3 separate regions of the Homo sapiens genome follow, and all the other regions are linked to region 1. The links are contacts of gene promoters, found by promoter capture Hi-C in blood cells and fetal thymus (Javierre and others, 2016). All regions are on one chromosome and are shown on one strand. The core of a region is centred on a gene start or on the middle of the fragment in contact, and the rest is flanking DNA. Distances in the headings are between cores, read along the strand shown. Region 1 holds the start of CYP7A1 (cytochrome P450 family 7 subfamily A member 1). Region 2 has its middle 120 kb from the start of LINC00588. Region 3 has its middle 160 kb from the start of LINC00588.

Evidence for each region. The method cuts DNA at HindIII sites, captures the fragments that hold promoters and counts their contacts. A CHiCAGO score of 5 or more calls a contact.
Region 2: a fragment that was not itself captured here is called in contact with the fragment with the promoter of CYP7A1 in region 1 in 2 of 17 cell types (total B cells and total CD8 T cells); the score reaches 5.9 in total B cells.
Region 3: a fragment that was not itself captured here is called in contact with the fragment with the promoter of CYP7A1 in region 1 in 3 of 17 cell types (total B cells, naive CD8 T cells and fetal thymus); the score reaches 6.8 in total B cells.

Annotation. Positions count from the first base shown.
Region 1 is chr8:58,497,993-58,501,755 of GRCh38, reverse strand. CYP7A1 (cytochrome P450 family 7 subfamily A member 1) reads left to right here and starts at 1,593. Exons shown (of 6, transcript NM_000780.4): 1 at 1,593-1,737; 2 at 3,287-3,527. The coding sequence starts at 1,658. RefSeq lists an enhancer at 1,162-1,383, a promoter at 1-1,617 and a silencer at 1,715-3,301. The HindIII fragment of the contact is 6,882 bases long and covers 1,227-3,763 here.
Region 2 is chr8:57,400,824-57,404,586 of GRCh38, reverse strand. No RefSeq gene overlaps it. Among named protein-coding and RNA genes, the nearest start is that of LINC00588, 120 kb to the right of the region's middle. The HindIII fragment of the contact is 2,027 bases long and covers 681-2,707 here.
Region 3 is chr8:57,438,943-57,442,705 of GRCh38, reverse strand. No RefSeq gene overlaps it. Among named protein-coding and RNA genes, the nearest start is that of LINC00588, 160 kb to the right of the region's middle. RefSeq lists an enhancer at 1-124. The HindIII fragment of the contact is 941 bases long and covers 1,223-2,163 here.

The DNA.
Region 1 (3,763 bases), core at 344-2,843:
GAAAAATCTATGTACTGCCATACAATGATTGATATTAATATTTATGGTGATAAATTACACACAAAAAATGTGTGATCTCTGTTTAAACAGGCAAAAACAAAAAACACATGAAATAAATCTATGGCATCTATAGCCAAAACTGGAAACAACCCACATATCCATCAATAGGAAATCAGTTAAATAAATTATAGTACATTTATCCAATGGAAGATTAAGCACATATTCAATATAATTATTTATACACACATATAGATACACACATGTATAAATATAGAGAATACTGTGGGTGTATGTGTGTGTGTGTTTATATACATATATATACACACACAGTACTGTTGCCTACCTTCTTTTGTCTTAATTCTGTGAACTCTCATTCACTCTGCTTCAGTAGGATACATCCTTCTTTTTGGTTCTTAGACTCACCAAGTTGATCCTTGACTCAAGACATTGCATTTGCTGCTTCCTCTTCCTGGAATATCCTTCCTTCTGATATTCACATGAGTAGTCTCTTCTTGTCATTCAGATCTCAAATGTCACAATTTCAGAGAGCCCATCTCTGATCATCATATCTAAAGTTGTCCTCATTCCCCCATAGCTTTCTATACCATGTTTTATTTTTTTCATAACATGTATTTTATTACTCCTTTCTCCATTGGAATAGAATCTCCATTAGATTAGGAAATCTGCCTATCTTATTAATGCCTGCAACTGGAATACTTTTGAAGAGTTCTTGGCACGTAATAAATACTCAACTAATATTTTTGTGTACACAGAAATAAAGTTTGGAAGAACAGATGCCAAATTGTTACTAGTGGTTACTTCTGAGTAAAGGAGTAGCATGGTAGGTAAATTATTAATAGATGTTCACTTTCCACCAAGATATGTTTTAGTTAGTCTTAACTTACTTGAAATGAAATTTATTACTTTAATAATTAGAAACATTGATAAACATTTTAGTCACAAGAATGATAGATAAAATTTTGATGCTTCCAATAAGTTATATTTATCTAGAGGATGCACTTATGTAGAATACTCTCTTGAGGATGTTAGGTGAGTAACATGTTACTATATGTAGTAAAATATCTATGATTTTATAAAAGCACTGAAACATGAAGCAGCAGAAATGTTTTTCCCAGTTCTCTTTCCTCTGAACTTGATCACCGTCTCTCTGGCAAAGCACCTAAATTAATTCTTCTTTAAAAGTTAACAAGACCAAATTATAAGCTTGATGAATAACTCATTCTTATCTTTCTTTAAATGATTATAGTTTATGTATTTATTAGCTATGCCCATCTTAAACAGGTTTATTTGTTCTTTTTACACATACCAAACTCTTAATATTAGCTGTTGTCCCCAGGTCCGAATGTTAAGTCAACATATATTTGAGAGACCTTCAACTTATCAAGTATTGCAGGTCTCTGATTGCTTTGGAACCACTTCTGATACCTGTGGACTTAGTTCAAGGCCAGTTACTACCACTTTTTTTTTTCTAATAGAATGAACAAATGGCTAATTGTTTGCTTTGTCAACCAAGCTCAAGTTAATGGATCTGGATACTATGTATATAAAAAGCCTAGCTTGAGTCTCTTTTCAGTGGCATCCTTCCCTTTCTAATCAGAGATTTTCTTCCTCAGAGATTTTGGCCTAGATTTGCAAAATGATGACCACATCTTTGATTTGGGGGATTGCTATAGCAGCATGCTGTTGTCTATGGCTTATTCTTGGAATTAGGAGAAGGTAAGTAATGTTTTATCTTTAAATTGCTCTTTGATTCATCCATTTAATTTTTTTACCTTCATTTTTATACAGTAAATTTGGTTTTCTATACTTACACATATTAGCATTATCTTCCTTATTTTTTAAATGAAAAATTTGATTTGAATTTTTAAAGTAATATCTTTTTTACTATATCTCACAAGACATATGACAGCTTCCCTTTTTAGTATTGGCATATACCGATGGTAATATATAAATGTATATTGGTGTTAAACATAACTGACAGAAATTGTATAAGGTCTCTATGTACATTTATATGTGTATCTAAAGAGGAAGCCCAGATTAGTAAGGATACAAGTAGCAAGTGGGAATCTACAATGGAAAGGATTGCTTTCTCTCACATGGCTTCAATAGATACTCTTGTTAAATAAATGTTCTCTTTTAAGCTCATTCTTGTGCATCGCATAGACTCAGCCTAAGCCTGAACAAGAGCATAGAGCCTGAGCTGATCATTCTATTACTGTTTTTAAATAAATGTTAATCAACTGTGGTGAATTGGGAAAGTTTGCTGAGTGTATGTGACATCGATTTCATTTATTTACAACTGGTTCAAGAATGCAAGAAAAACAAATACAGTCAGATCCAGAACCATAGTTTATTTAACTTCTAATTGGCTCAAGGAGTAATTGTGGGGAGGCATATAGATATTCTCTGCTATGTCAATCTCAAAAAGAGAAAATAACCCTAACCATCTTTCAGCTTTGTAGATTGCTATGTGTTTTCTGCCTTTTGCAGTTTCTTTCAGGCCTGATAGTTTTTACTTTTAATTAAACTACTTATCTTCAAACTAAGAAAAGAAAGGTAATTACTTTATACTGTATTATTCTATCAAGAGGTACAGAAGTTTATGTTGGAAAATAAGTTTACATGTTCTAATAAAAACATTTTAAAGGAGCACTGAATTACAATAGATGATTCCGTCAGTGTTTATCTTACTCAATTTCATTTTATAATAAGCTGATTTCTCACATGAGATTCTTCTTCTCTGAAACCATCCTTATAGAATATAATATAGATATCTTTAAACTAGGAATATTTTCAAAACCTCAGTTCTGAAATCCTCCCTTATTCAGTGATCTGTGTCTTTAAAGAAAATAATCAAAAGAAACATTTTGAGATATTTAGAAAAATGATGCTTAGCAAAGTGATAAACACTAGAATGTAGTTTTGTTTCCGCACTGACAACAAGAATCTTGTTGGTCTTGTAAATCCTTTTGCCTGTATCACTGGGAAAAGTGATGAGCACATAGTAGACGGGTGCTTGTTGAATGTGTATATGGACGGATGCATGAATGGATGGATTTAGTAATCCTTTCCACCAACATATCATGTTACTAGGTTAATATAACCTATTACTGTAGTAAAAGAGCAGGGCCCATCCAACAAAAGAAATATCTATAAACTATAGGGTTTCAAAGTTTGAAGTCAGTGGGAAAAATTTTAAAACCTGATGTAAGTAAAAACCCAAAACTGTAATCATCCATGTCTATCATACACTTGTGTCTGACAGGCAAACGGGTGAACCACCTCTAGAGAATGGATTAATTCCATACCTGGGCTGTGCTCTGCAATTTGGTGCCAATCCTCTTGAGTTCCTCAGAGCAAATCAAAGGAAACATGGTCATGTTTTTACCTGCAAACTAATGGGAAAATATGTCCATTTCATCACAAATCCCTTGTCATACCATAAGGTGTTGTGCCACGGAAAATATTTTGATTGGAAAAAATTTCACTTTGCTACTTCTGCGAAGGTAAGCAGTTTTACATTTATATACCATTCTGTTTGTCTTCTACCTTTTTATGTGCTTGTCTATTTAGAAATTTTGATGTACTTAGATTTTATGATAAAGGTGTTGAAGAGAGTTATCCTTATGTGGAGATTCTTAGAAACATAAATAAATTATACGTAGCTTCTTAGTAATAATCATTTAGAAAGTCAAAATAGGTATAGATTTGTCATTTGTTGACGAGCTAATGAGGGTGAAAT
Region 2 (3,763 bases), core at 445-2,944, 1.1 Mb after region 1:
AACATGTATCATTATAATAGCATATTCTGAAGATAACTGATACTGGGAAGAATAAAGAATACAACAGGGATAAATTTTTATAGAAAAGAGTAAAAAAGATTGACTGGAGCTTTTTCTCAAAGATAAAAATATACCTTATGTTTATAATTGTGATGACAATCTGCTTCTTAGGATGAACAAAGAAGGAACTAAGTGTTGATTGCTTTTATTGGCATTATTACCCCATAACTACCGACCATATTCTTCACTTGCCATTTGCCTTACAAAAAATGATCTTAAAAAGAGGTGATATGGTTTGGCTCTGTGTACCCACCCAAATCCCATCTCAAATTGTAAACCCCACGTGTTGAGGAAGGAACCTGGTGGGAAGGGATTCGATCATGGGGGCAGTCTCCCCCATACTGTTCTCATGATAGTGAGTGAGTTCTCATGAGATCTGATCTTTTAAAAGTGTTTGGCAGTTCCTCACTAGCTGTCTCTCTCTCTCCTGCCACCATGTAAGACGTGCCTTGCTTCCCCTTCACCTCCTGCCATGATTGTACATTTCCTGAGGCCTGCAACCATGTGGAACTGTGACTCAATTAAACCTCTTCTCTTTATAAATTAGTCTCAGGTAGTTCTTTATAGCAGTGCAAAAATAGACTAATACAAGAGGCAAGTCTGCCAAAACATTCCAAGCTTCATGAATTTTCCCCATGGTTTATCTTAATCCTTTGTTTTTCAAACCCTTCTCTTGTCAAGCAGCATTCTTCTGCTCTTGTTCAGTCATTTGCCCATCTTCATTGGGTATCAGCCAATTCTCCAGAATCACTTTATCAGCTTCATAAAGAACCCACATCTTCTGAAAAAGTTTATAATACCACTGCACCAGCAATTTACATGTGTTTGCATTATATTTTCATATATAATTACAGTTTGTGAGATATTGGTGAAGATGTAGCTAGAGTTATCAAGGATAGATGCCCATATTAAGTGGAATGACATATGAATGGGGACTGGTTTTTCAAGTGGTCAGTTCTTTAGTCCTTTAATAAATATTTTCTGATATAACTAAAAAACATTTCTTGGTACAGTCTTTAAAAAACTGTGGTGCATGGAAACAATAGATGCTGCAGACTACTAGAAGGGGAAGAGAAGGGGATGTGGCCTTAAAAACTACACATTGGGTACTGTGCTCACTACCTGGGTGCAACATAGCCATGTAACAAATCTGCACATGTTCGTCCTGTATCTAAAATAAAAGTTGGCATTTGAAAAATTAATTAATTTAAACAAAAACTGGCACAACTTGAATAATGATCGCTCAGATAATGAGGCCACTCTATGCTAGATGATATGTTGTTCTAGTGGATTAATAGTGAAATGGACACCTGCCATCTTTGCAGGCAGAAAAAATAGGCTTAAAATCCCACCCACCCGTGGTGGCTATTCTTTGCCTACAACACCTCTCCTACCCTCCTGTGGTAAGAGACTCGCACCCCTGATTATAGGGGTTGGTATGTTACTGTCCTGGTTCAGTCATTATGCCCTTATCCTTTGAAGTCGGTTATTGGCTCATCCTTCTCCCGTAAGTGAAAGCTCCATTTCTACAGGAGCCATTTCTCGGCTGGCCTGTTGACCAGTAGTTGTCTATCCAGACTGAGTTCAGCCCCAGCTGCCTGAAACCTGAGCTGGTAGTCACAGCTTCAAAAGTTATTTAGTAATATCTCCTCTGCCTTGTGAACCAAAAATTATCTGAGACAAGTCTCAATCAATTTAGAAAGTTTTATTTTGCCAAGGTTAAAGACACACCCATGACACAGCCTCAGAAGGTCCTGACAAAATATGTCCAAGGTGTTCCAGGTACAGCTTGCTTTTATGCGTTTTACTGAGACATAATACATCAATTGGTACATGTAAGATTTATATTGATTCGATCCGGAAGGGCAGGGCAACTCAAAATGGGTTGGGGGGCTTCTAGGTCATGGGTAGATTTTAAAATATTCTGATTGGCAATTGGTTAAAAGAGTTATTATCAGTAGAAAAGAATGTCTGGGTTAAGATAAGGGGTTGTGGAGACTGAGGGTTTATAATGCAGATGAAGCCTCCTGGGAGCAGTCTTCAGAGAGAATAAATGATAAATGTTTCTTATCAAACTTAAGGTCTGTGTTGATCTTAATGCTGAAGGAGTATAATGAGGCATGTCCAACCTCCTCTTTCATCATTGTCTGAACTAGGTTTTCAAGTTAACTCTGAAATATCTTTGGTTGAAAGGAGGGATCCATTCACATGGCTGGGGAGCTGTAGAATCTTATTTTTGGCTTACACTCTTAAGGGTTGGCTATCTATGAGTTTCATCTTATTACTCAGCTTTATCTACTGCTTGGCAGGCATAGCAATTGTAGCTATTTGACATCTTGATGACTATCTCTGTCCTGTGCTTTTATCAAAAGAGAATGAACTGTGGCCTTCCCAAGGAAAAGGAAATGGGTATGTGTCTCAAAGATGGAAACTAGAGGCTCAAATACTCCAGCTCCCTTTCACTGGATGTTAAAGGGAAAAAGCAAAAACATTGGTCTTGTTGGTGCCCAGAAAATGATACCCTAAGTAGAGGCCTCAGAAGCAGCCTCAAAAGCAAAGTCTCTGACCTTCTCCTGCCCTCCCTTCCCTCATCTCTCATTCTCCCCTGAGGCAAGCCATAGAAAATGGAATCCCTCTTCCCAAAGCTTGGTAATAAAAAGCAGAACGCCATTCCCCCAAAGCCAGCCATAAAGCCCAAAAATATTACTCTAATCCCCACCTCCTTGCCCTTCTGTGTGATAGCTGGCCATAAAGAAATTAAGACCCTTATTCCAGAAAGGTCCTGCCCCATACCAGAGAGGAAGGAATGCTTCACAGAAAGGCCAAGAAGAATCTGAACAGACAGGCCTTTCTGGGTTTCCCCCCTCAGCCTATTAGCATTAGACCCTAGGCTTTTTGTCCAATCACCTTTCCACAGGCCTCTCTATACTTTATTGAACTTAAACATAAAAATAGATCAGTTCCCCTGTATCTTTTGGCCACTCATCCTGAAGGCTCCCATGTCACATAAAACTATAATCAAATAAACTTGTGCTTCTCTCTTGTTAACTCATTCTTGTTATAGGGGTGTTGGGCATGACCCTTATGATGGGGAGGAAAGGGATTGCCCACTTTCTGCCCCTTCAGTTCCCATCCCTCAATTTGGAATGATCTGAATCATTTAGGCTGCAATTGCTATGCTGCCCCAAGGGGATTTCATAGTGTTTAATAAAATTTATAGTGTAACTGCCCAACAGGTTCACCTTGACTGCTGCCTAGACAGAACCATTTTATCCAGACAGGGGGATTGCAATAGAGAAAGAGTTATTCATGCAGAGCCAGCTGTGTGGGAGATTCATGTTGTATTACTACTAAAATCAATCTCCCGAAGCATTCTGGCATCAGAGTTTTTAAGGTTAATTTGGTGAATGAGATCAGAAACAAAATCATCGGGAGTCAAAGCTGTCCTCTTGCACTGAATCAGTTCCTGGGTGGGGGCCACAAGATCAGATGAGACAGTTTATCGATCTGAGTGGTGTCAGCTGAGCTAACAAATACAGGGTCTGCAATATATCTCAAGCACTGATCTTAGGTTTTACAATAGTGATGTTATCCCCAGGAACAATTTGGGGAGGGTCAGAATCTTGTAGTCTCTAGCTGTATGACCTCTAAACCATAATTTCTAATCTTTCAGCTAATTTGTTAGTCCTACAAAGGCAGTCTA
Region 3 (3,763 bases), core at 444-2,943, 1.1 Mb after region 1:
CTGGGCAGTAAAACAAAAATACCTCTCCCTAATCCTGCCTTTAAGTAGCTCAGTGATTCCTGTAGAATCGTAGTTGCAGCCCCTCACAGGGGCTTATAGCACAAAGGTTGAATCACTCTAGTGAACCCTCAAAGACAATTGATATTTTAAGCAATTATACAATAATATAATTTTATTACTGGATAAAAATTTAGAGGTTATCTAGTTCAATCCTTCGTTAGAGAAAAAAAAAAATAGAGGCTCAGCTGCTTCCTAAAGGTTCTACAAGGATCTGGCAAACCAAACTCAGGCGCATCTTGATCCAAGTCAGGCGCTCTTCCCTCCATGCCATGCGCCACTTCTTGATGATGTAACCAGCATGGGACAAGTCCCCAGTGACCACACATCTTACAATTTGTTACCTTGGGTTTATCAGGTAGAGCAGTATAGAAAGCTCTCTGGATTCTCAAGCTTTGACAACACAACTAATAAAAGGCACAGTGATAGTATCGCATAAGAGTTTTTACATAATTTGAAAATTCCTTTACATGCACTATGTTTACTAATAATAATTCTTTACATGTTTATAACATTTTATAGTTTGTGAAATACTTTTAAATGTATCATCTCATGACTATTAAATGTATTAAGTAACTAGGAATTATATCCCCATTTTATAGATGAGGAAACTGAAGTTCAAACCCCTCGCCACACAGTAAGTGACAAAGGTGGGGCCAGAGCCTAAAGGTCTGACTCCTAATCCAGTCCTCTTTTCTCACAAAATCTAATAAGAGGATTCAGAATAGCAAACTTTGATAGGTTCATGTCAAAGACACAGAGCTCTAATTTAGGGATTTTATCCAAGATTATATACATAATCTACAGCAGTTGGTCCAAGACCTAAATATTTCAAAGATATTCTTTTATTTACAACACAGGACTTCCCCACCCTTTGTTAATCCTGTGAACAATATGTTATTTATATATACTAAAAACATACTGGTCTCTCCAAGTTTGACAGCTCTCACTCTGCTAGGCGGTGCAACTGGAAAATCTAATATCTCAAAGGCGTTTCATACTCCTGCCAAATTCAAATTGCATGTGTCTGTCTATTTTTCCACCCCTTGTGCAATGGGTTTGAATCTTTCTTGAAGGTGCCTCTTCAAAAGCAGAAGTAATAGACATTCTTTCTCTTCTGAGCCTTATGATGAAATAATTACTTGGTGGTTAGCAAACAAAAGCTTTCCTGCCAATTTTGAATTACTCCAAGAAAAGAGTCAGAGGAAATTTCAAGTTGCAGCTCAGAATCTGACCCTCAAAATCTTATCTGAATAATAAAAGACTCTGGTTAAAGAAGAACATTCTATTTTCTTATAAAAGTGGACAGCGTATCTTCTATAGAGCATATGATTTTCTCTTTAATAAGGGTCTGGAGAGAGAAAATTTCTAATATTTACCTTTAGGAGATCATCACATAATTGAGGGTGGAATGACTAAATTCAATGTCAGAACGTTTTGCTGTTATTTAACTAGATGATAGTAATTTGTTTTACTATCTGTGAGTATATCAGAAATGTTTATTGTTGTAAGTTCCCAAAATTCATTTATATCTTTTGAATTTTAAAGGACTCAAAGCAGAATTCATTATTCCCAATGCAATTATGAAAGAAATACATAGATATTGTATAAAACGTGGAAATACAGAAAGACAAAAAAATAAAAACACCCCTGAAAGGCATCTGATATATTATAAGGATGCAGTTGAAAAAAGGTTGGATAAACAATCTTTCCTTTTAATTACATACTTTTTGGGGCTAGTATTTTTTTGTGGGCCAGCTACATTATGGAAGTAATTCTAACCTCCCAAATCTGAGTTGTATAGCATTTGCCATCCAGTATCTCAAGATACCTCAGCACCCCCGTTGCATAATATGTAGTTTTATCTCAAGGGTCAAGTTATGTTTATGGTCCCTATGTAAAATGTAGTTTTTAGACTAATTTCATACATGCTTATACACATATATTTCATATATATATGGGTGGGGCTTATAATCATGCAGTGTGCAGATTTTAATCAATTACCCCCAGCTTCCTCAGTGAGTTTCGTCTCAAAGTCTGGAGCCCCTGTCAACTGGGTGGATAGGAGCAAGTGGGGACTTGAGGACCTATCTGTTTATTCAAGCTTCCCAATGAGCGCTACTTCAGCAGAACCCCCTCCCGAACCACTTCCTGCTGTTCCTCACTAAAGATTAGATATGTGTGTATATATATTTATATATTAATATATAAATATATAATTTCATATATTTTCTATATTAATATACAAATATATAATTACATATATATTTATATATTCATATATTCATGCATATTGATATATATGATATATCAATATATAGGTATATTTTGATATATCAATAGGTATATTTTAATATATCTATTGATATATTTGATGTATCAATTTGATATATCAATTGATATATTTTGATATATTTGATGTATCAATTTGATATTATCAATCGATATATTTTGATATATTTGGTATATCAATATATAGATATATTTCATACATAGATATATAAATATATAATTTCATACATATTCATATATATTTCATATATATTCATATCCCAATGAGGATCACTTCAGCAGAACCCCCTCCCCAACCACTTCCTGCTGTTCCTCACAAGAGATTAGATGTATGTGTATATATCTATATATTGATATATAAATATATAATTTCATATATATTCATATATATTTTTATATAGTCATATAGAAAGATATATTTTTATATATATTTATATTTTATATTTATATAGATATACTAATATATACTTACATATAGATGTATAAATATATAATTTTTTATATATTCATATATAAATATATATGAATATATACAAATAGTGTATATTATTTACATATATAATTAAAGTATTATTTCATATATAATTATATATTATATATTTTATATGTTATATATAATTAATAATATATACTATTTCATATATATTTTATATCTATATCTGTACAAAATTCTGCTTTTGGACAATTTCCTCAAAAAGCACATAGAATCTCTACAGACACTTTGAATAACTTAGGAAGGTACATCATGGATCTGTTCTAATGGGGACAGAGCTGCAAAAGTCACTTTTACTGGTATGAGTCTGAGGCTCAAAAACATTTTTTAGTACAAAAACTCTGGAAATAGGCAAGGGAAACTCAAGGCTTACTAAGTTGATGAGATTATCTCAATGAAGCAAGCAAATATTAGACCTGAAATGAATATATGGGGCTAACCAATAGCCTAATTAAATAATAACTATAATGCATGGTTTTAAGTTGACAATATTTGGAGACACATTATGTTACCCTCTAGAATCCTTTTGGAACTCAAACTATTATACCAAGAGAAATAATTCTAAAACCTGTATAGAAAGCTGGCATTTGAATTGATTCTGCATGACAGAAATAAGTAAGGCCGTCTTGCTTGTCTAAATGCTTTGTTGAATTACACAGCCTCTTTCTCCGTGCCAGTTTGTTTGCCAGGTTTTATTGATTACTTGGTACAGTTACTTTGAACTTTAGTTTTTGAGATTTTCCTGCCAATAATGCTATCTAACTTTCCAAGAAATTCTTTATTCTATGTTTCAGATGTCATCAGATTTCAGGAGTTTGTTTGAGATTGAAAAGACCCTGAAAGATCTGTCTCTTTTAGCTACAATATGGAACTCTACCCAAGATAACTGAAAACCCAGTGGCATTTTCACCTGCAGTAAAG